3 separate regions of the Homo sapiens genome follow, and regions 1 and 3 are each linked to region 2. Evidence: promoter capture Hi-C in 16 types of primary human blood cells and fetal thymus (Javierre and others, 2016). All regions are on one chromosome and are shown on one strand. Each heading gives the region's core, a stretch centred on a gene start or on the middle of the fragment in contact. The rest is flanking DNA. Distances are from core to core; before and after follow the strand shown.

Region 1 (3,183 bases), core at 262-2,761, 1.2 Mb after region 2:
GAAATAGAAGTGATTTTCTGCCTAAAAATGAACATGGAGAAAAACATTGTTTGAATTCAGGGTGTGCACAGGACACCAGCACGGAGCCAGGAAGGCTGCACAGGCGCCTCCAACCCGCCACCCCATGGCTGCGATGATGGGCTCAGGGACACGCCTCCCAAGAGGATGCCATGGGAGGGACTCTCACAGCTGTCTGGATAGTTTCAGAGACTCCAGAACACAGGTCATCTTACTGGAAGGTTTTGTTTGTTGGGAATTTTATTTAGTTTTATAGCAGGATCTGAACATCACTACATAAAAACTTTTTTATACTTAAAAATTTATTACAGAGTTATTGCATGCACATTTCTGAAAATTTAGGGAATTCAGATTAAAGACAGTTAAAATCATCTGTGTTTCTATTGAGCAGAGAAAGTGCTGTCCCGCAGGAGCCTGTCTGCCTCCAGCCTTATGGCTGCTGTTTTCTGCAGCCTCTGAGTGCAGACAGCCTCTACTAGTGGGTGTCGTCATGGAGGAGAGGCAGCCCCGTGGGCTTCGGGGAGCTGGGTGCACCTCTCCTCTCACACAGCCGCCGTGACATAGGGCATGTCCTGTTCTTTTCTTGTAGCCTAGTCTCCTCTGGGCATGATGGAGCCTTAACAAGCTGCCGCGAGTTTCCAGGAACTCACGTCTGTGAACACTAGCCGTGTGTGTGGCACGCAGACAAGTTCATTCTACAGGCAACTGTGGCTCCTGTCATTCTTCTTGTATTTTTAGTCTTGGTTATGGCAGCCTGCTCTGTAAGCTGTTTAAACTCAACTTTAAGTGAGCTAAAGGTGAAGAGAGCTTCACTGGAGGAGTCATCAAAATACATTCTCAGGACCATTTTTTCTTCAATTTTTCTTTTTGACATCCTTCCAGACTGGGCTTCCCAGATGATTCTGATGCACAGCCTCGGCCACCTGCCCTCCGATGTGCCGAGGTCCTGCTGCGGCGGGGCCCTAGGGCTCCTGCCCTGGTGTCTTTGGGAATTGGAGGCCCCTGAGCCTTTAGCAATTGTAGCTTAGGATGAGAAGGATGGGCAGGGAGTGACTGCCTGTGTTGGGGAGGCTGAGTGGCCCCAAGGCTTGGAAATGGGATGGGTGGAAGCAGATGTGGGGAAGGGCTGGTCCTGGCTGAGGCACTCACTCACTGTGTCTGCTTCAGTCTCAGGGGCATTGGGTTGAATCTTTGAGTGCCGGGAGTCTGTTCTGGTCTGCTGGGGGAGCTGCTTTTGGAGTTCCTGGTGTCTTATTTCATGAGGTCGTGGCAAGATGGTGAAGTAGCAGCAGTGCTTAGGGTGTGAGGATGGTCCGTGCCAGGGTGGTGCTGCCGGGCCGCAGCTGTGGACGTGGTGGTGGTGTGTGTCGTGTTGGAAGGTGTGTTTGTTCAGACACACTAGTCCTGGGGGCTGCTGGGCACATCACTGGCGACATGCCCAATGGGGTGAGGCAGCGGTCTCGGGTGTCCACAGTCGAGCGCCCCAGACGGCAGGGTCTGCCTGGCGTCCACACAAGCAGGTGTGTGACCAGGGAGGGGCCCATGCACGGTGCCTCCTCCTCGTGCATTCGCCAGTGCCGCATATCCCCGACTGTGTGCTTCCTGCTGCGGCAGCGGCCTCACGCTTGCTTGCTTCCTCCTCTCCAGGTCAAACGATCAAGGAGCAAAGGCGGGCTGGCCGGCCCCGACGGCACCAAGTCTGTCTTTGGGCAGATGTGTGCTAAGATGAGCTCGTTTGGTCCCGACAGCCTCCTCCTTCCTCACCGTGTCTGGAAAGTCAAGTTTGTGGGTGAGAACTTGCCACGTGCTGGAGCACCTGTGTCCCCGGCAGTGGTCGCCTGAGCCCACAGGGAGCACAGAGGCCACATGGTGTGGGAGCGTTGGGGCTCTCTTTACACAGGACTGTGTGAGGGGACTTCGAGTGGCTGCTTCTCCCCTGCAGGTGAATCTGTGGATGACTGTGGGGGCGGCTACAGCGAGTCCATAGCTGAGATCTGTGAGGAGCTGCAGAACGGACTCACGCCCCTGCTGATCGTGACACCCAACGGGAGGGATGAGTCTGGGGCCAACCGAGACTGCTACCTGCTCAGCCCGGCCGCCAGAGCACCCGTGCACAGCAGCATGTTCCGCTTCCTGGGTGAGCTTCTCGGCCGCTTGAGACTGTGTCGCTGTGGCCTGTGCCTGCTCTTGAGTTAAAATGTACTATCTGTTTGAGGAGTGACAGTAGATATCTTGAATATCTGCTTTTAGTTTTTGAGACTGTTACCAATAAAAATGACTTTTAGGGTGAGGCGCGGTGGCTCACGCCTATAACCCTAGCACTTTGGGAGGCTGAGGCAGGCAGATTGCCTGAGGTCAGGAGTTCGAGACCAGCCTGACTAATGTGGTGAAACCTCGTCTCTAGTAAAAATACAAAAAAAATTAGCTGGCTGTGGTGGCATGCACCTGTAGTCCCAGCTACTCAGGAGGGTGAGGCAGGAGAATTGCTTGAACCCGGGAGGCGGAGGTTGCAGTGAGCTGAGATCGTACCATTGCACTCCAGCCTGGGCAACACTCTGTATCAAAAAAAAAAAAAAAAAGAAAAAGAAAAGACTTTTAATATTGATCGTGCCTTTCACCAACATTGTGGAAGCGAACGAGGTGCTGTTGACTTCCGTGCCTAGCATTGAGGGCCTGACGGTGGTGGACCGTCGGAAGCTCTGTGCACAGCTGCAGGCACTGGCAGAGCCAGCCCCGGCCACGTGCTGAGGACTGGAGACTGCCTCGGGTACTCAGAAGATGGGAGATTCTGTTTCTGCATCTTCAGTGTTTATCTGAGACTTGGGATCAGAGTGGGGTGAGGTCTTCGCCATTGGCCAGTCCCTCCTTCCTGTCCCACTGAGGGTGTGCAGGGTGTCCTCGGCTGTGCGTCCCACCACAGCCAGCACCTCCTGGGCAGGGCTGTAGCTCCCTGGAGGACACTCCCGTGGGGAAGTTCCAGCTCTTTGCTGTCATAAGAAGAAGAATTGGCCACTGTGTGGCTTAAACTAGTGTGCGTGCAGAAAGGATGTGAAGAGTTAGAGGCTTTTAGGCACAAAAGGATAGATTTAGAGCAGGACAGGCGGTCTTGAGGAAGGGCCTAGACCTATGATGTGGGTGTTGCTGCTTCAGAAGGCTCTGAGTCCT
Region 2 (3,243 bases), core at 381-2,880:
GTTGTTTTTTCTTAAAACAGGTACTGAGTATAAAACAATATAAAACAATATGAGACGGTCTCTCTATTCCCTCAATACAACATCCACATCCTGCAGTAGGGACCTTTTGCAGAATTCTAGATGGCAGGAAGCTTCTATGAACCTAAGTCCAGATTTTAATTTGCAAGGAAACTGAAGCAGATGAATTTTCTCATTGTAAAAAAATGAATGCCTTGATAATATATTTGTTTTTCATAGTAGGCCTTTGTCATTAAAATTGATGCCTGAGGATATAGTTGCATCTTGTGTGGAACAGTAAGTTATTACTCATTGCATACCAGATTTTAGCATACTTGCATTAGTTCATGGAATATGATTTTACATTTACTATTGCAGTTCCAGTGCCATTATCAGATTGCATTTTCCTACTGAATTACAAACAAAAGTGTTATGCTACTAACAATTAACAAAATTTTAATAAGGTTGTGTTTGATGCTATTACTCAGATAATGTGTTCTAAATTGCTTTCCTTTGAATATATTTGCATTAAAGAGGAACTCAATTTGGTTCTTTGAAGAGTTTATCCACTTTCTGGGTAGCTTTAAAAAGACACAGGGAAATTCAGTTTCTTCTTTGCAAGTAAATAGAGAAGAAACAAATTTGCTAAGATCTGTAGAAGTCATGGCAGCAGACTGCTGATGGTTTGAGTTAATGAAATGACTCATTTTGGCTACTTGAGTTGCACAATTAAAATATACAGTAGAGACTGTATATCACATCATAGATGAGAGATAAATCCCCCAGTGTTCTCTTTTTTTTCCTCAAAGCTAATATATTATGAATTAAGAAATTTAAGAGCTCCACATTATTGCAATTCTTGATCAGTGATGCCCCAAATTAAGTAGTAATCTCTTGAGAGTGCACGTTTGTTTGCAGCATTCCTCTTACCCATTTCTGCTAAAATTGTGGTTGTGACGAAAGCAGTTGTTTTCCAAAAGATAAACCCATGTGACCAAGCTAAAACATTTACCTAATACTGACACGTTTTTTGTGGTCTTCTCATAGTTGTCTAGCTAAAGGAGTTTAATGCAGAGAATATAAATACGGAAATAGTGAAACTGAAGTCCTGCTTGCGCAGAAAGCCTGCAGCCGACTTTGGTTTTTAACAGACTCCACGGGGCATTAGAGAAAGTAACTGGGGGCAGTGGGATGGAGGGTATGAAATTGGGTGGAGGGACGAAAACTAAGAGCCCTCTGGGTCTTTTATGTCCTTCTACATTTTGTGTAGAAATAAATGTTTTTACTTTACTTCCACGGTCGGCCCTTCCTCTTCACCTTTTTTTTTTCTCACACGTTCATCCTCTGAATTCTTTCCGTTTACAAATGCTCCCGATTTAGAAACTCATAATACTGTCTGTAAAACTTGCCTGAGCCTGTGTGGTCTGAATTTAGCGACACACTTGTTTAGGAGTTTCGGTTCTCGCTCTCTGTTTGCATGGTTTGGTAACAACACTTCACTATACTAAAAATCATCGCCCGGACCTGCAGGGCTGCACGGAAAACGCTGTTCCTTTTGGTACCCGCCGCAGCCGCGCAGGCGCACCGCCCAGCCGCCCTGACGCAAGGCGCAGGCTTCATGACGCAGCACGCAGTCTCAGCCGACACTGCGCGCGCCTCCAGGCACCGGCGTTAGCGGGTCGCCGACCCGCAATCCCCGCCGCGGCTGCTTGCCTACCGGAGTGTGCGCCGGCACCTGCCGCCGGAGACATGTTGCAAAAACCGAGGAACCGGGGCCGCTCTGGCGGCCAGGCCGAGAGGGACAGAGACTGGAGCCATAGCGGAAACCCCGGGGCTTCGCGGGCCGGGGAAGACGCCCGGGTTCTCAGAGACGGCTTTGCCGAGGAGGCCCCGAGCACGTCCCGCGGGCCGGGCGGCTCGCAGGGGTCGCAGGGCCCCTCGCCTCAGGGCGCCCGCCGGGCCCAGGCCGCCCCCGCCGTGGGGCCCAGGAGCCAGAAGCAGCTGGAGCTGAAAGTGTCCGAGCTGGTGCAGTTCTTGCTGATTAAAGACCAGAAGAAGATTCCGATCAAGCGGGCCGACATACTGAAGCACGTCATCGGGGACTACAAGGACATCTTCCCCGACCTCTTCAAACGGGCCGCCGAGCGCCTCCAGTACGTCTTCGGGTATAAGCTGGTGGAACTTGAACCCAAGAGCAACACTTACATCCTCATCAACACCCTGGAGCCTGTGGAGGAGGATGCCGAGATGAGGGGTGACCAAGGCACGCCCACTACGGGCCTCCTGATGATCGTCTTAGGGCTCATCTTTATGAAGGGCAACACCATCAAGGAAACTGAAGCCTGGGACTTTCTGCGGCGCTTAGGGGTCTACCCCACCAAGAAGCATTTAATTTTCGGAGATCCAAAGAAACTCATTACTGAGGACTTTGTGCGACAGCGTTACCTGGAATACCGGCGGATACCCCACACCGACCCCGTCGACTACGAATTCCAGTGGGGCCCGCGAACCAACCTGGAAACCAGCAAGATGAAAGTTCTTAAGTTTGTGGCCAAGGTCCATAATCAAGACCCCAAGGACTGGCCAGCGCAGTACTGTGAGGCTTTGGCAGATGAGGAGAACAGGGCCAGACCTCAGCCTAGTGGCCCAGCTCCATCCTCTTGAAAGGTGGATTCAGAGGGACCCCCGGGACAAGGGTCTGAGACCCAAAGGCACAGTTTAGAGGATTGGGGGAAGGGAGAACGAACCCAGGGAGCATATTGCTGTAAACGCTTCAATGTGTGTAGCTTTAGGATGTGTTTGCAAAGTTTTGTTTTTTTAATGTTGTGTTATTTTGCTCCAGATTTTCATCTATAAACAAAGGAGCATTTGTTTTGATTTTACTCTTTTTGGTATAAAAAATTTTGCTAGCTTAGTAAAACGAATTGGAAAACTTGACTATGATCTGGAACAGATAATGCAAGAAGGAACACATAAGTAAGTTGCTTTGGTGCCAAGAAAATAAAAAAGCTATTATCAGGTCTCCTAACTACCCCAGTTTGTAAGGAAAAATAAAAGTTTTTATAAAATTAAAAAAAATAATTGCCTATATCCTTATTATGTTAACCTATTTTATTTTTCTATATTTCGTACATATATAAGTATTATTCATGGTTCCAAGCAATGAGTGTAATGTATTTTCTCCCAATAGTAATTGTTTATATTCATAATTATTCAGCTCTGCTGCTAAACACGTAGTTCCACTTC
Region 3 (3,103 bases), core at 532-3,031, 1.2 Mb after region 2:
ACACTGCCCTCAGCGGGACACCCCTGTCTCAGCCCAGGACCGGCTGAGGAGGAGGCTGACCCCTGGACGGGCTTCTTCAGGCCTTCTTGGCCGCAGGGCTTCTCCTGCCCCCTCCCTGGGATCCGGGAACTAGAAGGAATGCTTCAAATGCAACGGTCACAGCATCGCTCCTGCGGACACCGCCAGGCTCCCGAGACACGGCTACGCCTCCGGCTCACAGTCACGCCCGACACAGACAGACCACCTCCAACGAAAAGCCACGCCCCCGGAGACACGACCACACCTCGGAGACAGGCCATGCCCCCGGAGACACTACCAAGCCCCAGAGACACGACCACGCCCCAGGAGACACAACCACGCCCCGGAGACAAGCCATGCCCCCAGAGACACGGCCACGCCTTGGAGACAAGCCACGCCCCCGAGACCAGCCACCTCCCGGAGACACGACCACGCCCCGGAGACAAGCTACGCCCCCGGAGACACATTGACGCCTTTGCAGACGCAGCCAGGCCCCCGGAGAGAAGGGCCGTGCTCCGAGAGACACAGCCATGCCCTGTGGACCCAGCCAGGCCCCTGCAAGCATAGCCAGGGGCGGTTTCTCGCTCAGAGGGACGCCTTGGGGCTGAGCAGCGCATTAGGGACGATTTGGGGCCAAGCAGCGCTTTGTGGGGAGGGGAGCGTTCAGTGACGGGTGTTTTCTCTGGATGTTAGACACTGTCCACCAGAGGGGAGTTGGCTGCAGAGGGACTGCCTTTCAACAGCCAAATTTTCACCTCAGCGCCTAAACCTGGTGCTTCTCGTTCCTTGCCGGTATTATGTCAGATATTTAAAGAACTCGAAGAACAATGTTCTTTTTTTTTTTTTTTTGAGACAGTTTCGTTCTTGTTGTCCAGGCTGGAGTGCAATGGCGCCATCTCGGCTCACCGTCACCTCCACCTCCCTGGTTCAAGCGGTTCTCCTGCCTCAGCCTCCCGAGTAGCTGGGATTACAGGCACGCGCCACCACGCCCGGCTAATTTTTGTATTTTTAGTAGAGACGGGGTTTCTCCATGTTGGTCAGCCTGGTCACGAACTCCTGACCTCAAGTGATCCGTCCGCCTTGGTCTTTCAAATTGCTGGGATTACAGGTGTGAGCCACCGCGCCCGGCCACAATGTTCTTAAGATTTACGAAGAAGCTGTTTTCCACACGCTGTTGATCGCCGCCACTGTGAAGTCGGCGTGCGGCGCCTGCTGCCGGCTGTCGTTTCACAGGGGCGGGGTGGGAGGGCCGCGGTCCCCCGGGCGCACCCGGGCGGGGAGTGCGCAGGGCGGCCTGGCTGGGCCACTCCTGCCCTCCCGCCGGGCGCCAACCGGGGATCCGCCAGCTCGAGCTCTGCTCCGAGTCCCGCAGACCCACCATGCCCGGAGCACTCAGCCGTGCGGCCACGGGCGTGCCAGTACCAGCGGGAAAGGCCGGGGCTGCCTGGACCTGGGCAGGAGGCGGTGACCCGGCCTAGCTTGAGCGCCGGCAGCACCGCTCTCTTGGCTGCTGCTCATTCACACCCGCAGGCCTGGAGCCTTTTCTTGGGCCGAGCAGGTGACCCAGGCTCCTGTACGCAGTGGAGAAGGGCCCAGGCGTGGAACGCCGTCCCCTTCCCGGCAGGGCAGGTGTCAGGACCACGCCCGGCGCCGCGCCCTGGCCTCTGTCGGTCCTGGCACCGGTGCCGTCGCCCCACTCCGCCCTGGGCACGGCTGCGGGAGGCGGGGCTCGGGCAGGCTTGGTGAGCGTCTGGCGCGCTCTGAAGGCCACGGCACGGCGGGGCGTTGAGGGCCTCGGAGAGAACGGTGCTGGCAGCAGGGGCGGCAGGAGGGGCCCGGGCCCACCCCCACCTCGCAGGGCCCGAGTTCGGGGGCACGGTTGCAGGCAGAAAGAGCGCAGAGCCGGAGAGAGGGCCGGCAGTAGCCCACACGAACGATTTGGGGTTGAGTGTGAGGACTGGAAGGTTCCACCGACTCTGAACCATCTATTTTTTTTTTCTAAAAATAAGCCACAACTATCTATTTTTTCTTTCTAAAATTTGGTGACTTCGGTGTGAGTCTTGCTTGGAAGGAGGGTCCTGGGCGCCATCGCGGGGAGGACCTGGAGGGGTGGGTTGGGGCTGTGGCATACTCCGCCCTGTGCCGCCGGCTTACAGCTCCCCTACCCCTCTCCCGCCAGCTGCAGGTGTCCCTACGGGCGGGAGCTCTGCCCAGGGTGGCCCTGCCCTAGGCAAGTCAAGCGCATGGGGCCCAATAAAGCAAAGCCAGGCTGAAGCTGTGGTTCCCGTGAGAGTGCAGCCACGGGCTGGGGTGAAGGGAGGGTCACCCCAGAGGACGGGCTGTGTGCTAGTGTGTTGGGGTCCCCCAGAGGTAGGCTGTGTGCTAGGGTGTTGGGGTCCCCTAGGAGACAGGCTGTGTGCTAGGGTGTTGGGGTCCCCTAAGGGACAGGCTGTGGGATTGGAGTGCTCCATCATCTGCATGAGAGGCGATGACCAGGTGGGACTAGGAGGAGTTAGGATGTGTTTGGAAGAACTGGATGAGGAATGTGTGAGAAAGAGGGAGAGTTCTGGGTGAGCAGAGGCCTCTGTCTCCCAGGGAAGAGGCAGGAAGTGAGGTGGAACGAGAGCCCCTACTCAACCCCGGACAACCACTAACCTGTTCCCCATTGATATAACTTTGCCGTTTCAAGAATGTTGTAGTCATGGAATCAGAGTAAATAGTCTGTTGGAACTTGCTTTTTTTCACTGAGGATTTTCACTCTGGATTCCTCTACGTTGCTGTGTATGAATTGTCTGTTCCTTTTGATTGTGGCGTGGTCTTCCCGGCATGCATGCACCGCAGCCTATTTCACACTCCCCTACGGACAGACGGCTGCGTGGCTTCCAATTTTTCATATAGCTTCTATGACCATTTGCGTGTAGGGTTTTGTGTGAATGAAAGTTTCATTTCTCTGGGATTAATGTCCAGGAGTGCAATTGTTGGCTGGTAGTTGCAATTTTAGTTTTTTTTTAAAAACTGTCAAACTGCTTTCCAGAGTGGCTGTACAATTTTACATTCCCATTGGTGATGCAGGAGTGAACCACCC

What was found. The method cuts DNA at HindIII sites, captures the fragments that hold promoters and counts their contacts. A CHiCAGO score of 5 or more calls a contact.
Region 1: a fragment that was not itself captured here is called in contact with the fragment with the promoter of NSMCE3 in region 2 in 1 of 17 cell types (fetal thymus); the score reaches 8.5 in fetal thymus.
Region 3: a contact is called between a fragment that was not itself captured here and the fragment with the promoter of NSMCE3 in region 2, in 5 of 17 cell types (non-activated CD4 T cells, total CD4 T cells, fetal thymus and 2 more). The highest score is 7.7, in non-activated CD4 T cells.

What each region holds. Positions count from the first base shown.
Region 1 is chr15:28,115,637-28,118,819 of GRCh38, reverse strand. HERC2 (HECT and RLD domain containing E3 ubiquitin protein ligase 2) reads left to right here. Exons shown (of 93, transcript NM_004667.6): 87 at 1,666-1,807; 88 at 1,961-2,155. Among named protein-coding and RNA genes, the nearest start is that of OCA2, 18 kb to the right of the region's middle. The HindIII fragment of the contact is 5,691 bases long and covers 1-3,183 here.
Region 2 is chr15:29,268,209-29,271,451 of GRCh38, reverse strand. NSMCE3 (NSE3 component of SMC5/6 complex) reads left to right here and starts at 1,630. Exons shown (of 1, transcript NM_138704.4): 1 at 1,630-3,243. The coding sequence starts at 1,747. The coding sequence ends at 2,661. The region is part of intron 2 of ENTREP2 (endosomal transmembrane epsin interactor 2); the gene reads left to right. RefSeq lists enhancers at 1,334-1,833, 1,834-2,335. The HindIII fragment of the contact is 8,019 bases long and covers 134-3,243 here.
Region 3 is chr15:28,093,480-28,096,582 of GRCh38, reverse strand. The region is part of intron 1 of OCA2 (OCA2 melanosomal transmembrane protein); the gene reads left to right. Among named protein-coding and RNA genes, the nearest start is that of OCA2, 4.3 kb to the left of the region's middle. The HindIII fragment of the contact is 3,761 bases long and covers 1-3,103 here.